5 separate regions of the Homo sapiens genome follow, and all the other regions are linked to region 1. The links are contacts of gene promoters, found by promoter capture Hi-C in blood cells and fetal thymus (Javierre and others, 2016). All regions are on one chromosome and are shown on one strand. The core of a region is centred on a gene start or on the middle of the fragment in contact, and the rest is flanking DNA. Distances in the headings are between cores, read along the strand shown. Region 1 holds the start of DOCK11 (dedicator of cytokinesis 11). Region 2 has its middle 1.7 kb from the start of SOWAHD. Region 3 overlaps SEPTIN6 (septin 6). Region 4 overlaps UBE2A (ubiquitin conjugating enzyme E2 A). Region 5 holds the start of STEEP1 (STING1 ER exit protein 1).

Region 1 (3,087 bases), core at 200-2,699:
AATTACAAGGAAAAGCTGTGAAGTTCCCTTCCGATGACAAGTTGTTTTAACAAAAAGAGCCCTCTCTTAAACGGTGAAATTTAAACACAGCAAACGACTCGCTGTAAAATGGAGCTGAGGGAGACAAAAACAAACAAAAACAACAACCAAAAAACAAAGTAACAAAACAAACACTAATTAATCAGTCCGATTGCTTATTCAGGGTTTGTTCGCTTGTCCAGGAAACTGGCAACGAGTGTCTTGAAAACAAGAGAAGGGGCAAGTGCCCGTTAGCACCCTTTAGCCTTTCTCCAGAGTCAGACAATCTGGATAAGGCTGAGGGTGCTCTGGGAGGGTTCCCAGGGAGTCAGCGCGCTTTCGAATCCCCATCCCCCAGTCCTGAGCTGTGGGGCTCTGACCCCAGGTCCTCCATCCCTGGACTGACACACCCAGTCTTCCCCCAAATCCCCACGGCACCGTCCCCTTGGTCCCCTTGCCTCTGGAGCGCTCGCGTGTCCCCGAGGGACACACTCTCCCTGCGGTGGATGACCCTGCGCCCACTCTGTCGCAGAACCCCGTTGTTTCTAATGCCCTTCCTCCGCAGCAGCACCCCTTCAACACCCATCACCACCCTCTCTCCCCAGTTGCAGGAGGAAGTCGCTCTGCTTCCTCTGTTCTCACCGCCAGCCCGAGCTTGGGCGCCCGGGGCTTTCTGGGTGGGGTTCTTTTTTGTGTACACAGTGTGTGTATGTGTGCGCGCGAGAGTGTGTGTGCCAAACGCTCATCGCATCCTTCCGCCTAGGCGGCCTCAGGTGCTCGCGGGAGGGGATCAGGATCTCGTCGTGCCCTTGTCCCCGGCTCTTTGTGCCGAGTCCAGAGCAGCGCGAGGTCAGCTCTTTAGCTCACACCCCCGGCCCCGACCCTGGGTGGGAGCCTCCGCCTCCGCCTCCTCCGCAGCCGTCCGAGCCCGGCTTTTGCCCGTCTGCTTCCATCCCGGCGCACGCCTCCGCCGTGCCGGGCGGCCGGAGAGCTGTCAGCCGGCGCCTGGGACTCGGACCCCGGCCGGCGGCTGCCGGTGCGAAAACTTACTGGAGCGGAGAAAGACAGCGCGCGGCGCACCAAGCGGCCGCACTGGCGCCGTTCCTGCCCCTTCCCGCGTCGCTCCCGCCTGGAGCGCGTCCCCCGGGATGCCCCGTCCCCCGGCCACTCACCAGCACCACGGAGCCCCGCACGGCCTCAGACACGCTCTGCCGGAGCTCAGCCGCCGTGCCAGGCTTGCTGAGCCGTTTGGTGAATTTGCGCACTTCGGCCATGGCAGCGGCGGCGGGCGGGTCTCGGCGGGCGGGCGGACCTCGGCGGGCGGGTGGACTCACTGCCCCGGCCCGCGGCGGCCGCGGCCGCTGCTGCTCCCTCTGTTTACTCGCCGGCCGGCCGGCCACATCGCAGCTCGGCGGCGGCGCGGCTCACGCTGCTCCTCCCTCCCACCTCCCACCCGCTGCTCCTCCCTCGTTCCCTCCTTCCCTCCTTTTCTCGCTCGCTTCGCCCGCTCACTGTCCTGCCCCACGGCGTCGGCGGCGGCAGCTCCCTCCCCTAGAGGGCCCGAGCTCCGATCGCCACCAGCCGAAGCAGGAGGGTGTGTCTGATGGGGAAGGGTGTGTAGAGGGGGAGGGAGAACTGGAGGTGGGGGCGAGGGTCACGAGGGAAGAGGGGGGAAGTGGCTACCGCTCGGGCTCCGCCCGCAGCTGATGTTGCTGGTGCAGCCGCATCCGGGAGGGGAGATCTGGGCTGCTTCTTTTTTTCCGCTTGAGTGGGGAGGGCGGGGTGGGGTGGGGGAACAGAGAGGGGTGATGAAATGTCTCCAAGAGTGGGGCGTGCTCCTCTCCCGCCCTAGTGCTCCTCTCCCGCCTCCGAGCTGCAGTGCCCGCAGGAGGGCTGGAGAACTCTCACGTCCCTCCACCCCGCAAGCCCCCAGGGCCCAGGCGGCTAGGGGCTGGAAAACAACGTGGAGCAGCCGCCTTTTGTGTGCTCCTTGGGGAAGGGTCGCACCAATGTCGAAGGACAGAGAGCTGCTTTCCAGCGTGAGCGGCTCGACTGGGTCCCCCTCCTCGCCCACACCGTTTTCCTACTCAGTTGGCTCACCTAACAGGGGGCAACACTGGGGAGAGAGCATGCTTCTGGAAGTGGGAACTTATTGTGGCGGCACCCCTCGCTCCGTCCCCCACGGGGGAGAGCTGGGTGGTGGAGCCTGAGCCTGTGGCAGGTGATCCCTAGGTCAGCACTGACTGCACCAGGAGTGGGGTGGGGGTGGGCATTAGGATGAGCCTGTGGCAGGTGATCCCTAGGTCAGCACTGACTGCACCAGGAGTGGGGTGGGGGTGGGCATTAGGAAGGCCATCTCCCTGGGTTTGGTGGACTTACCAATCTTATAGTAGCTTTTACAAGTGCCCTGCACTCACCTCTCCATTTCCTATTCATCTCCTTACTCTTTTCAGCTTCCAAGAAATTGTTTTTCCAAGAATCAAAGAACATCTCATAACAGGGTATAAAACGAACATGCTTAAGACAGAAATAGGGACGGGAATCTTGAAGTACTAGTGACCCTGTCAGACCTCCTGAAGTGCAGAGTGAAAGGCTCCACTGATGGTGGCAGTTTTCTATCTGGTTATTTCATTTGTTGAGAGTTTGAAAATGGCCCTCAGTCTGGGGGACCGAGCAGCCCTTCTGAAAGCAGTCCTACCACCACCCATCGGGCACTTTCCCCACCCTCAAAGACCAAACAGTCTTTTAGGGGACTTTATTATGGAAACAAGGGCATGCGTGGTGATGGTTTCTTTGAACCCAGAAAAGGCCAAGTCTCTTCGCAGTAAGCCTATTTCAGCCATCCCATCAGTCTCAATAAAGCATATATGGAGGCTCCTAGAGGGCCTGGGACCTGGAAGTCCTCTAAAGACATTCTGTCACAAATCTTAGTTTTGCACAGTACGTGTAAAATTTGTTAATTGTTGCGTGTAGGCTGATCTCCAAGAATTCATACCCTCTGTTCCATAAATGCCTGTGTGGCTCATGCTGTTGGTTACCACCACAATAGCTATAACACTTTTTGCTTGC
Region 2 (3,087 bases), core at 305-2,804, 1.3 Mb before region 1:
CCAGCCAAGTCCCCAGGGCAAGCCCAGCTCCACTTCCCTGGGTACCGCCGCCTCTGCAGCTCCCCCGGGTCGCGGGCGGTCCCACCCCAAACGGCCAGGTGAGCTCGGCAGCCCCGCCTCCAGCACCGAAGGGCGGGCGCGGGGACTGGCTGGGAGCTCGCCTGCGGCCCTGGAAGCCGCGGTTCTCAGCATCCCAGCCGGGGCTAGAGTGTAGAGGCGCGAGGGCGCCCCTTCCGCAGCGGGCCGAGCTCGGCTTCCAGCCACGGTCTCCCAAAGCGCGGTCCTGGAGCTCCGAGGCTCTGGCTCCCCGCCCCCTTCCTTCGCCCTTCCCTCTTATCTCTTCAGGAGTCTCCCTGCACTTTGTCCCGGAGTTGCCATTGTCCCGCGCCTAGCATTCACGCAGGCAGCTCGACTGCCCCATGTGACTGGCTCGTCTGCCTGCCTTGCCCTTTGTGTGGCCTTGACCCTCGCCGCAGCACCCGGGGCTGCCCAGGATTCCAGCAGAGAAGCCCAAGACCAGGGTCCAGGCTGACGCTCTTCCAGGGAACTCAGGAGGGATATTCCCCTTCTGCACCGCCCTCTCTGTCCTGCTCTCCACCCTCTTCCCTCCCGTCAATTTTCCCAGGTTGGCTTGGAGAAGCAGCTACAGGTGAATCTGAGCCGGCGCCGCAGGAGCGCCCTGTTCTCTTTAGAGATGCATCCCTGCTCTCTCCCCAGGGCCCCGCTTTCTACAAATTCAAAGCTTAGGGGCTTTTTAAAAAAGGATATTTTTTCTTTTTCACTCCTAATACCAGCGTACTCTTTGCTCTTCCCTTCCCTTAGTAAATAGTGGTTCTTGCCTCCACACCCCCAGCATCTTAAGGAGCTCAGTCAGTGAGCAACGGGGAGCCATAGAAGATTGTTGAGCCGGGGAGAGACACAGCCATGATGGAGGTTGTGTTAAAAAGGTGATTTGGGAGGTGCAGAGGCAGGAAGTCGGAAGACTGTTCCAGCAGTCTAGGCCAAGGGGGATGGAGGCTCAGGCCAAATCAGCCCACTCCCTCGGGGCCACCTGTGGCAGCAGTGATAGAAGGTATCGGAAGCTTTTCTTCCTTGGCCCTCACGTATTTGGAACAAGTCCTAAATATCTAGAGCTTTCCTTCAGAACAGTTTATGCATTTGTAATTTGGTTTTGAACATTTACTATGTGCCAGGCACTGTGCTTGTTGCGTTATATATGTTAACTCTTTTAATCCTCCCAGTGACCTCAAGTGCTGGGAATCATTACTGTCCCCAGTTTGCAGAGAGGTTAGGCTACTTGCTCAAGGTCACCCAGCAGGAAGTGGCAGAGCAGGTCTGTGCGACACCATAGCCTTTGTTCTGGTACACAGGAACTGGCATTCAAGCCTGGCTTATCAACTGCAAATCACATACAAGCCCCAAATTCCAGCCAAAAGGATAGACTTGTAACGTGAGCGTATCTATAACTTACACTCCTCTGCCTGGAAGAGCTTCTATGTAGTGAAGTTCTTTTCTTTCAAGGTTGCGCTTAGTTTCCACCTCTAGCAAGCCTCCTCTGATTATCCCAGCCCAAAGTGATCCCTCTCTTTCCCCAGCCCTGTGTTTCTGCTACTTCTTTGGCCCCAAGACTGCCTTGTGTTACATCTCTCTCCCCTTGCTCTCATATGCCAATTAAACTATAAACTCTTGGACAGCTATGTCATACTATCCTTGTGCACCTAGTAGTTATCCAAGAAATATTTGTTACCTTGTTCTGGTTTGGCAGGCTGGGAAAATGTGATTGTGTGTGTGTATGTTGGGGGCGGGGGACATGTATCCACAATCAGCACCTCAATGCCTGCTCCCACATCCCTGCTCCAGACTCCAATCTGCAGGACATCAAAAGCAACTCATAGATTTGGTCAATTCATTTTTCTTTAAAAGAGATTCAGTGGTTTATTCACTGAGTTGACTGGCCAAAGCCACCTCCTGGCCTTCGCTGACTTCTCAGAGACCAGGCCTAGGCCCAGAATGGGCCCCAAGCTTTCAGGCTTTCATTTTCAAAATGAATCCTGACTGACAAGCAGCTACTTCCGTTGCTCTGGAGACTCCTCTCCGCAACCCCAGATCTGTAAACACCAAACCGCACACAGGCACACACACTTCCAGAATATGCAAACAGCTGCAGCAATATTTTTTTTTAAGTCAAAATGCCAGCATGGAAAATGCAGGATGGAAGAATGCTTGGACTATTAATTTTCGTCACCACTAAGCAGGCAACTCTCTTCCCTATCAGCATGAATAATATCTGTTTCCAGTTCAAAGATTGCAAAGGCAGCCGCCTGACCAGTGCCACAGACCCATGATACATGTGCCCTTGCTTAACTCTGCTGCTAGAGACCAAAGCCACGGTGCCTCCCTAGCAACTTGTTTCATCTTTAATTAGCAAGTGCTTTCTACCCTAGGTCACCAGCTGCACACACCACTCCCCAGAACCGCAACACCCATCTCTATTTTAGTAGAGAGGGTCTCAGGAATTTGATAGCAGGGAGTAGGGCAGAGGGAGTGGAAAACAGAAGGGATAGTACCCACCCACCTAAAATTAACATGCCAGTTATCTGAAACATCTGCTACCCCTCCAAGGGAGTGGGGCAAAAACCCCTCAAGCCCTGGGAAATGACTTCCCAAAAAGCTGGAGGTAGAGTAGATATTTGCATTGCAAATTGTAATAATACTGATGTCTTTTCCAAATAGCAGCCTCTCTAATATATTTGTGGGTTTATTTACTAGATCTTGGACTATTAGAACTAGAAGAGATCGGCTGGGCGCGGTGGCTCATGCCTGTAATCCCAATACTTTGGGAGGCCGAGGCAGGCTGATCACGAGGTCAGGAGATCGAGACCATCCTGGCTAACACGGTGAAACCCCGTCTCTACTAAAAAATACGAAAACTTAGCCGGCCGTGGTGGTGGGTAGTCCCAGCTACTCGGGAGGCTGAGGCAGGAGAATGGCGTGAACCCGGGAGGTGGAGCTTGCAGTGAGCTGAGATCACGCCACTGCACTGTAGTGTGGGTGACAGAGCGAGACTCCGTCTCAAAAAAAAAAAAA
Region 3 (3,087 bases), core at 216-2,715, 1.2 Mb before region 1:
CTAAGTGTGGCTAGCTTAGGAATTCTTTTTTTTTTTTTTTTTTTTTTTTGAGACGGAGTCTTGCTCTGTTGCCCAGGCTGGAGTGCAAGTGGCATGATCTCGGCTCACTGCAACCTCAGCCTCCCAGGTTCAAGCGATTCTCCTGCCTCAGCCTCCCGAGTAGCTGGGATTACAGGCACCCGCCACCACACCTGGCTAGTTTTGATATTTTTAGTAGAGGGGGGTTTTCACCATGTTGGCCAGGCTGGTCTCGAACTCCTGACCTTGTGATCCACCCGCCTCAGCCTCCCAAAGTGTTGGGATTACAGGCATGAGCCACTGCTCCCGGCCAGGAATTCTTTTTAATGAGCTCTGAGACGTGGTACCATGCGAGTAAGTGCCCTAGTGTGTGTGTGTGTGTGTGTGTGTGTGTGTGTGTGTGTGTATGTGTATGTATGTGGGGGGTGTGTTCTTTCTAGAATCAGTTGAGAGTCACTGTGGGTAAACATCCTTAGTGACTAAAACAAGCCTTCAAGTTGTTGGGTAGGGCTTACATTGCACGCAGCCAACTTGGAAGTTCAATTCTGGTGCACATAATACAAGTCCGTCCCATTTGAATGAACACCACAAACGGTTTGGTGTGACAACACCATTTCTCCACTGTGTCCATATTTACTTGATTGACTGATATGTGGCCAGCACTATGGTTAGCCCTTGTCAACTGGACAAAAAAAGGTAGCAGGCTTTAAAAAACGTTCGTGATCGGACTGGGCTTGGTGGCTCATGCCTGTAATCCCAGCACTTTGGGAGGCTGAGGTGGGCAGATCATGAGGTCAGGAGTTCGAGACCAGCCTGGCCAACATGGTGAAACCCCGTATCTACTAAAAATACAAAAATTAGCCAGGCGTGGTGGTGCGTGCCTGTAATCACAGCTACTCAGGAGGCTGAGGCAGAAGAATCGCTTGAACCCTGGAGGCAGAGGTTGCAGTGAGCCAAGATTGCACCACTGCACTCCAGCCTGGGCAACAGAGCGAGACTCCATCTCAAAAAAGAAAAAAAAGAGGCCGAGGTGGGTGGATCACAAAGTCAGGAGATCGAGACCAGCCTGGCTAACATGGTTAAATCTCATCTCTACTAAAAATACAAAAAATTAGCCAGGCGTGGTGGCGGGCACCTGTAGTCCCAGCTACTGTGGAGGCTGAGGGTGTGAACCTGGGAGGCGGCACTTGCAGTGAGCCGAGATCGTGCCACTACACTCCAGCCTGGGCGACAGAGTGGGAATCCGTCTCAAAAAACAAAACAAAAAAAAGTTCGTGGCTTTTAAGCTTATAGTCTAGTTGGAATGACAAATTGTGGACACTGTGAAATAATTAAAGAACTATAGAAGATCCTTGTGATGCCCCACCTCACCCCCTGACTATGAGGTGGCTTGGGCTGCTATTAATATATATTTCGAGAGGTTCCATGACTTGTCCAAGGTAACCAAGGCACAGGGCAAGCCCCAAAAGCTGCATGTGCTGGCTCTTTTAATGAGCTGTTCCTTTCAATGTTGCATTCTGGGATCCAGACCGTAAATGCCGGCCCATACCAAGAGCATCTGGATGATTCTGGCTTGAACTAGTCCCACAATGTGAACAATGAAGCTTTCTCTAGTGGCAATCTAGGTAGTGGTCATTCTCCCAAGTGAACTTTCAGGGGCTAACTTTGCCCTACAAAGTTAGCTGGGGTTGGTCTGGGTCAACTGTCTCAGAGCAACTGTCTTCAGGTGGGGAAAAGATTGCTGCTGCACTCTGGTTTTGCTATCATCACGTGGCAGTTACCCTTTGATTCCCTTTGAGGTCTCTGCTTCAGGCGTTCCTACCACCACCCACTAAAGGTAGTATCGTACCTCAAACATAGAAAACAAAACCCTATTACCTAGCTCTATTGGTGATACAACACGGAAGAAAGTTTACATGGCCCTAAATATTTAAAAATGTTGATTCTAAATTTGAGGGGTTTTTGGACAGTCATTACATTATTTTCTAACTTCTCTGTGTGTTTGGGATGTTTCTTTTCTTCTTTTCCTTTTTTTTTTTTTTTTCCCCGAGATGGAGTCTTGTTCTGTCGCCCAGGCTGGAATGCAGTGGCGCGATCTCAGCTCACTGCAACCTCCGCCTCCTGGGTTCAAGAAATTATCCTGCCTCAGCCTCCCGAGTAGCTGGGATTACAGGTGTGCACCACCGTGCCCAGCTAATTTTTGTATTTTTAGTAGAAACAGGGTTTCACCATGTTGGCCAGGCTGGTCTCGAACTCCTGACCTCGTGATCTGCCCACCTTGGCCTCTCAAAGTCCTGGGATTACAGGTGTGAGCCACAGCGCCCGGCCTGGGATTTTTCAAAATAAAAAGCGGGCAGAATGACAATGTCCCCCAAATGCACATGGTCCCTTCTTTCAAGGAACTGGTGGAGGCAGACACAAATCACTATCTAATTATCTTTGTGATAAGTGCTACACAGGAGAGTGACTGCCTGCCATGAGATTTCATTACTAAGGGAACCTAACTCAGCAATGAATGGAGGCAGAGGGTGACAGGAAGGGCTTCCTGAGGGCTTCAAATAGGAAATGGGTAGGTGTGAAGGTGGGTGAGATCTCACATCTGCTACTGGGTTGGGAACATTTCATTTGCCAATTCACCCACTTTTATTTTCATTCATTCCTTCAGCACATATTCACTGGGCACTGATCGGCCAGGCCCCGTGCCAGGTGCTGAGGATATAGTGGTGGCCAAGGCACGCAGGAACTCTGCCCTCTCACAGCTTCCAGATGAAAGGCAGGAATAAGCCCTGTTTCCTTTTTACATCCTAAATCCTGGAAATGTGAGTGTTAGCGGTGTTCTTAATACAAAACTACATTATAGCAGAGTGATTTGTCTGTATCATCTAATGAGATTTTGATCTGCAGTCATGTGCATAGCATTTACTTTGTGGAGTCTCTGCTGTAAATTTTCTATTAATTGCTGGCTTTGTTACCAAGCATGGCCACTGCCTTTGTGTGCTATAAGGGAGCAAACCTATTGCATTAGCCTGAGCAAAGCCAATTAGGAAGATAAGTCCTCTGGAAAAAGGT
Region 4 (3,087 bases), core at 249-2,748, 1.1 Mb before region 1:
ACCACTGTGCCCGGCAACATATTCTGTTAATATATTTAAAAAGCATTACCACTTATGACTGGAAAGAAAAAAAAAGTTCTCTCCAGAAGTATCTGTCTTGTCTTTTCCCCTCCCAGAATGAGTATTTTTGCTTTTACCTTAATGTTTGAGGGGGGAAATGAGTACATATGAGATCCCAATAAGAAACCAATACAAAAAGTTTATACTGAGCTAAAAAAAAAAAAAAAAAGATACCTTGACTATGAAATTTTAAGGTTATTTTTATTTACAACTTTTGAAAAATGTACATTTTTTTTTACATGGGTTACTTGTGCAAAGTTAGATTTGGAAGTGATAAATGCATAAAAGGTGACAATAGAACATTAGACAAAACATTTACAAGCCTTGTCCCATACTGCTACTTAAAGGTACTATATATCTAAAAGTATAAATATCCAAAAAAAGATCGCAGACATTGGCTTTAAGGTTCTCAGATGCTGAAAGGGAAGAAATTAAAGCATGCAGCAATAACTCAGGATTTGAGTGGAAAATAGTTTGCCACAGATATGCTATGCTCCCTTCCTTGAATTCATTAAAACTCTAAAATAAAGATGGACAATTGAGTTTATTCACTTAGGGCAGCACTGATCCTTTAAAAAGATTAAAGGAGCTCCAACTTTCCCTAGCTCAAAAACTCACGATTGTTTCCATTCCTCTGCTCCCACACCTCTTTTAAAAAGCAAAAACCCAGAAGACCAATAATTCTGAAACTTGGCATGAGTGTGCCCAGTCAGCAGCTTGCAAAGAGAGGATGTGTCAGTTACTACAATTGCTGTACTCCTTTAGCTGAGTCCTTCAACTTTCTCCTTCTTGCCAGTAAATACTACGTTGTAATTCATATGACTGAGATCTTAGTATCACAGGATTTTTAGCTCCCATGCCTCCTTCAAAATTGTTTACATGGATTTGTTTCTATTCTCTGTAGGCCATATTCCAAACACATTCACTTCTAAATCCAACACAAGTGAAGGACCAGCCAGGATGAAACACTTCAGCAATCATTTTGTTAAAAATAACATCCTGGTCATCAAGCTAAGCATAAGCACCTCTTGTATAACAATTCATCTTAAAAGCTTAAAGTACAATAATAAAAATAACTGCCTGAAAACTGGAAATGAAATACAACAGAAAAACTGAAGCATTAGTAATTTTTGCAAGTAACCCAGGTACAGTACATTTGATTTCATAGAGGGTGTTTTCTGATGTTTAAGGAGAGGGTAGAAGGGGTAGGAAAACTTGGCAAGGAAGATGGAAACAGCACAACAGTTATTTTGCTTTTAATAAAGTAAATGTAATGACAGGAGTAGGGAGGTGACAAACACATCAATATATATTTTTCTTATGGCCAGCTTCTTTAAACTGTACCCGGGGTCAACAATCACGCCAGCTTTGTTCTACTATTGCAGAAACACGCTTTTCATATTCCCGTTTGTTCTCCTGGTACAGCTGAGCAGCCTGGCTGTTTGCTGGACTATTGGGATTGGGTTCATCCAACAGAGACTAAAGAGACAATTTTTAAAATGTCAGTTCCTTAATGCAAAACAACTATTTTATAAGGTAGTGACACTCAATTGAATTGTCCTAAGTACAGCTACATTTCTTGTCTTTAGCATACAAACCCAGAGTTATGTGAATCTGCTAGTAGCTAGGAAAATATATGCGGCTTTTTTTTTTTTTAAGGGAGAAGAGTCTCACTATGTTGCCCAGGCTGGTCTCAAACTCCTGAACTCAAGCAATCCTCCCACCTTGGCCTGCCAAAGTGCTGAGGTTACAGGTGTGAGCGACTGTACCCAGCTGACTTGGGTCTTAATGGTCTACTTTTCATCTATAAAACAAACAAGCTTTGACCAAAAATAAAAAGATCTATTACATTATGACTTTCAAAAACAATTCAATTGCTAATATAAACATATTAAAAGTTATAGTTCGTCACATTAAGGAAAAATTCACCTGTATGGATGTTAGAATGGAAGACACATCATAGGTTGGACTCCAACGGTTCTGAAGTATGTCCAGACATATACTACCATCTGCATAGACTAAGAACAAAGAAGTAGGTACATTAAACGTAACAAGACCACTAAGGTTTTAACATTATAGACAAAACAAAAATAGTCAAGAATACTTTGCTTTTGAAGTTTAAAGATTCCTATGTTGCTTCCCAGTTAACTGCCTAAAAAGATAAGTCATAACCACCACTAGTGAAATAATCAGGATGATCAGAGAATGTCAGATGTGATCAGTATAAAACTGGAAGATATTTAGTGTTCATCCTTTGGAAAAGGCTGCCCTATTATCCAGGAAATCAGAAACATTTTTGAACAGGGTCCCTAGCTATCCACAGACATGTGGGAAATTCATTCCACCAAATTTGTAGGCTGTATCCCCTATCTGAAATAACAAAAGATCACTCAGAGTTCACAAGATTTCATTTTGGCATAAAGATAAACATATCTGATACCCTGAAAAATACTTCATTAACCTAAATAAAAGGCAAGCTGTTCTAGGCTTACTACTATTTTAAAAAGTGCAAAGTGGTTAAGTTAGAATCACCTGTGGTGCTTTTCTGACAATACCGTATGCCTGGCCTTCAACAACAGAATCCTATTCATTAGGTTTGGAGTGGGGCGAAGGCATCTGTGTTTTTAAAATGTTCCACAGTAATTCTGATATGCGTCCAATGAAAACTACTTTTCTAAACGCTAGTGAAAATAATTACAACACAAGACTATCCCAATCTGGCCTAGCATTAAAAGGAAACCTCAAGAGCATCCTTCATTTTGTTTAATAAGTAAATGACAAAGGTCATCAAAATCAGGAGGCTCCCAGACTCCAAGCAAAGGGAAAATACCTCCACTGCTTCAGTTCTAGGACAAGACAGCCACAGACAACCAAGAACAAGTTCAGCTTTCAAGAAGCAGCAAGCTGCCTAAACAAATACTCAGGCACCACAAAATACACAGGAAATGTGGAATACTCCATAATAAACACTATAGTAGTTTAAAACACTGTACTAAAAGTGATACTTGCCATTTGGATGGAACATCT
Region 5 (3,087 bases), core at 148-2,647, 1.1 Mb before region 1:
TGTACTCATCTGGAATAGTCATTAAAATCACAATCATATTTAGAAACACACCCAAATCAGTATCATATATATATATATATATATATAATATAAACTATATAATGCATAGTCCTTTATTTAGCTGGTCTTATATATACATATGTGTATATATACATATAAATGCATGCGTTATAGAAATGTAAAGAATTTATATAATATTAAGGGTGTTGTGAGAAAGCCCACCAATCTTCATTGAGAAGTGACTCCCAGATCACAGGAGTCCCAGCTAACTTGGCCAAGACAAAGTAGGTTCTGGGAGGCTCCAGGCGCACCCCCGTATATCTTAGCCTGATAGGACAGCCCGGAAGTTTATAAGACTTCTGCTAACACGTGACCAGCGTAGCCACAAGGAAAAGGTGCAAGGCGCACTCGTGACGTCATTTCGGGGCGACCCTCTTCTTGGCGTAGAGTTTTCAGATTGCTCTTGGGAATCATGCCGAAAGTAGTGTCTCGGTCAGTAGTCTGCTCTGACACTCGGGACCGGGAGGAATATGACGACGGCGAGAAGCCCCTCCATGTTTACTACTGTTTGTGCGGCCAGATGGTCCTAGTGCTGGGTGAGTAGCCGGGAACTGCGGGGGCGTCTGCAAGGAGCCAGACTTCGGGTTCTTGAAGGCGAATTTCCTCTGGCTGTGATCTGGGAGCCACTTCTCAACGAAGATTGGTGGGTTTTCTCTCTCCGACTAAATCCTCCCTACGCATCCCCGCCCCACTCCAGGGCATTTTTTTTTTTCCTGCTTTTTGTTTAGCCTTGTGACTCTGTATCCAGACCTTCCTCAAAACTAAACTCCTTCAGGAGAACAAAAATAGAAACACAAACATATTGTATTTCCCTCTTAATCCACTGTCTTCAAAAACTACTGCCTCTAGAAGCTTTATAACTTTTCTGCTGGATACCAAGATGCTGCAGTTGCTCTTACCTCACAGCAAACGAAAATAAAACCCTCCCTCGATCCTGTATTCCCCTCCAGCTATAACCCCATTTCGTTGCTTCTTTTATAGCAAAGCTTCTCAAAAGAGTTGCCTATATTGGCTGTCTCTGCATCCTGACTTCTAATTCTCTCCTGACCTCACTTCAGGTAGGCTTTCCTTCCCACCTCATCATCTTAACCGTATTTGGCTCCATGTTAACAGTTCTAGTGGTCAGTTATCAATGTTCATTTTAATTCTGTCAGTGGCATTTGACAGAGGTAATCATTTCATTCCTTTTGCAACATGTTTTTTATTTGCTTCCAAGACTCCATACTCACTTGATTTTCCTCCTACCTCGTATTTCCCCCCCCCCTTTTTTTTCAGATGGAGTCTCACTCTGCTGCCCAGGCTGGAGTGCAGTGGTGCAATCTCGGCTCACTGCAAGCTCTGCCTCCCGGATTCAAGTGATTCTCCTGCCTCAGCCTCCCGAGTAGCTGGGATTACAGGCGCCCGCCACCATGCCCGGCTAATTTTTGTGTTTTTAGTAGAGACGGGGGTTTCACTACGTTGGCCAGGCTGGTCTCGAACTCCTGACCTCGTGATCCACCCGCCTCGGCCTCCCAAGGTGCTGGGATTACAGGCGTGAGCCACCGCGCCCAGCCTTAGATTTTTCCCCTTGTCTGGCTCCCTTTTCTCTCTCAGACTTTTAGGCATTCCAAGGCCCTATAGCTCAGTACTCTCACCTGTTCTCACTCTGTACCCACCCCCTAGGTGATCTCATTCATTCCCAAGCTTTAAATACAACTGACATGCTGGTAACTCCCAGATGTTCATCTTTAACCTGCACCTCTCCTGAGACTCCAATTGCCTATTCAACATCTCCACTTGAATGTCTAATGGGCCTCTCAAATATATCGTGCTGAAAATTGAGTTCATGACCCTCTACACCCCCTCTCCAATTGCTCCTCTTATAGTCATCCCTATTGCAGTCAGTAGTACAACTATTCATCCAGTATCTCAGACCAAAACCTGGAATCAGTCTTGACTTCTGTCTGTCACGTACCTTACATCTGTCCAGTCCATCAGGAAATCCTGCAGGTGCTTTCGTGAAAATGTATGCAGGATCTGACTGCTTCTTACCACCTCCATTCCTTTTTCTTTTTGAGACAGAGGGAGTCTCACTCTGTCACCCAGGCTGGAGTGCTGTGGCGCGGTCTCAGCTCACTGCAACTTCCGCCTCCCAGGTTCAAGCGATTCTCCTGCCTCAGCCTCCCAAGTAGTGTGCGCCACCAGGCCCGGCTAGTTTTTTTTTTTTTCTTTTTTTTTTTGAGATGGAGTTTCGCTCTTCTTGCCCAGGCTGGAGTGCAGTGGTGCGATCTCGGCTCACTGCAACTTCCACCTCCCAGGTTCAAGCGATTCTCCTGCCTCAACCTCCCTAGTAGCTGGGATTACAGGCATGTGCCACCACGCCCGGCTAATTTTGTATTTTTAGTAGAGATGGGGTTTCACCATGTTGGCCAGACTGGTCTTGAACTCCTGACCTCAAGTGATCCACCCACCTAGGCCTCCCAAAGTGCTGGGATTACAGGCATGAGCCACCACGGCCGGCCTACCACCTCCACTTCTAACACTGTAGTCCAAGCTACTACCATCTTTCACCTGGATTGGCACAATAGTCTCTTGCTCTCGTTGCTTCCACTCTTTTCCACATAGTAGCCAGAGTCCTGTTCAAAACCAATGGTTTCATATAACACTGAGAATAAAACCAAAGTCCATCCATACCAAGACCCTTGATCAGGCCTGTGGCTACCTCTCAGGCTTCATTCCCTAACAGTCTTCCTCTTGCTCATCGCACTTCAGCCACAGTGGCCTTTTTGCTTTTTCTCCATCATGTCAAAAGTGTTCCTGCCCCCCAGTGCCTTTTTAATTGGTATTTCTTCTGCCCCAAAAACTTTTCCCTCAATCCCTCCCTTACTTCATTCAGGTCTCTGCTAAAATGTAATTTCCTTAGAGAACCCTTCCCTGATTACCTTATCTAAAACAGCATCCCTGTCACTTTGTCCTCTTACCCTGCTTAATATTTAGCACTTATCATTACCCAAAATCATATTATAATTATTTTAAAATATGTTGCCT

The links. Contacts are between HindIII fragments. The CHiCAGO score rates a contact against its expected background, and 5 or more counts as called.
Region 2: a fragment that was not itself captured here is called in contact with the fragment with the promoter of DOCK11 in region 1 in 2 of 17 cell types (non-activated CD4 T cells and activated CD4 T cells); the score reaches 6.2 in non-activated CD4 T cells.
Region 3: a contact is called between a fragment that was not itself captured here and the fragment with the promoter of DOCK11 in region 1, in 2 of 17 cell types (activated CD4 T cells and total CD8 T cells). The highest score is 7.0, in activated CD4 T cells.
Region 4: a contact is called between a fragment that was not itself captured here and the fragment with the promoter of DOCK11 in region 1, in 1 of 17 cell types (activated CD4 T cells). The highest score is 8.8, in activated CD4 T cells.
Region 5: a fragment that was not itself captured here is called in contact with the fragment with the promoter of DOCK11 in region 1 in 1 of 17 cell types (activated CD4 T cells); the score reaches 5.9 in activated CD4 T cells.

The regions. Positions count from the first base shown.
Region 1 is chrX:118,494,177-118,497,263 of GRCh38, reverse strand. DOCK11 (dedicator of cytokinesis 11) reads right to left here and starts at 1,449. Exons shown (of 53, transcript NM_144658.4): 1 at 1,191-1,449. The coding sequence starts at 1,292. RefSeq lists silencers at 922-981, 1,152-1,211, 1,302-1,381, 1,492-1,631 and enhancers at 661-1,639, 2,042-2,111. The HindIII fragment of the contact is 5,195 bases long and covers 1-3,087 here.
Region 2 is chrX:119,755,356-119,758,442 of GRCh38, reverse strand. No RefSeq gene overlaps it. Among named protein-coding and RNA genes, the nearest start is that of SOWAHD, 1.7 kb to the left of the region's middle. RefSeq lists a silencer at 1-105 and enhancers at 2,062-2,261, 2,272-2,331. The HindIII fragment of the contact is 940 bases long and covers 1,085-2,024 here.
Region 3 is chrX:119,687,686-119,690,772 of GRCh38, reverse strand. All of the region lies in intron 1 of SEPTIN6 (septin 6), which reads left to right. Among named protein-coding and RNA genes, the nearest start is that of SEPTIN6, 3.9 kb to the left of the region's middle. The HindIII fragment of the contact is 318 bases long and covers 1,307-1,624 here.
Region 4 is chrX:119,581,579-119,584,665 of GRCh38, reverse strand. UBE2A (ubiquitin conjugating enzyme E2 A) reads right to left here. Exons shown (of 6, transcript NM_003336.4): 4 at 3,070-3,087; 5 at 1,990-2,078; 6 at 243-1,539. The coding sequence ends at 1,411. Among named protein-coding and RNA genes, the nearest start is that of UBE2A, 8.6 kb to the right of the region's middle. The HindIII fragment of the contact is 768 bases long and covers 1,115-1,882 here.
Region 5 is chrX:119,562,741-119,565,827 of GRCh38, reverse strand. It overlaps STEEP1 (STING1 ER exit protein 1), which reads left to right and starts at 419. Exons shown (of 7, transcript NM_022101.4): 1 at 419-596. The coding sequence starts at 473. The HindIII fragment of the contact is 697 bases long and covers 1,049-1,745 here.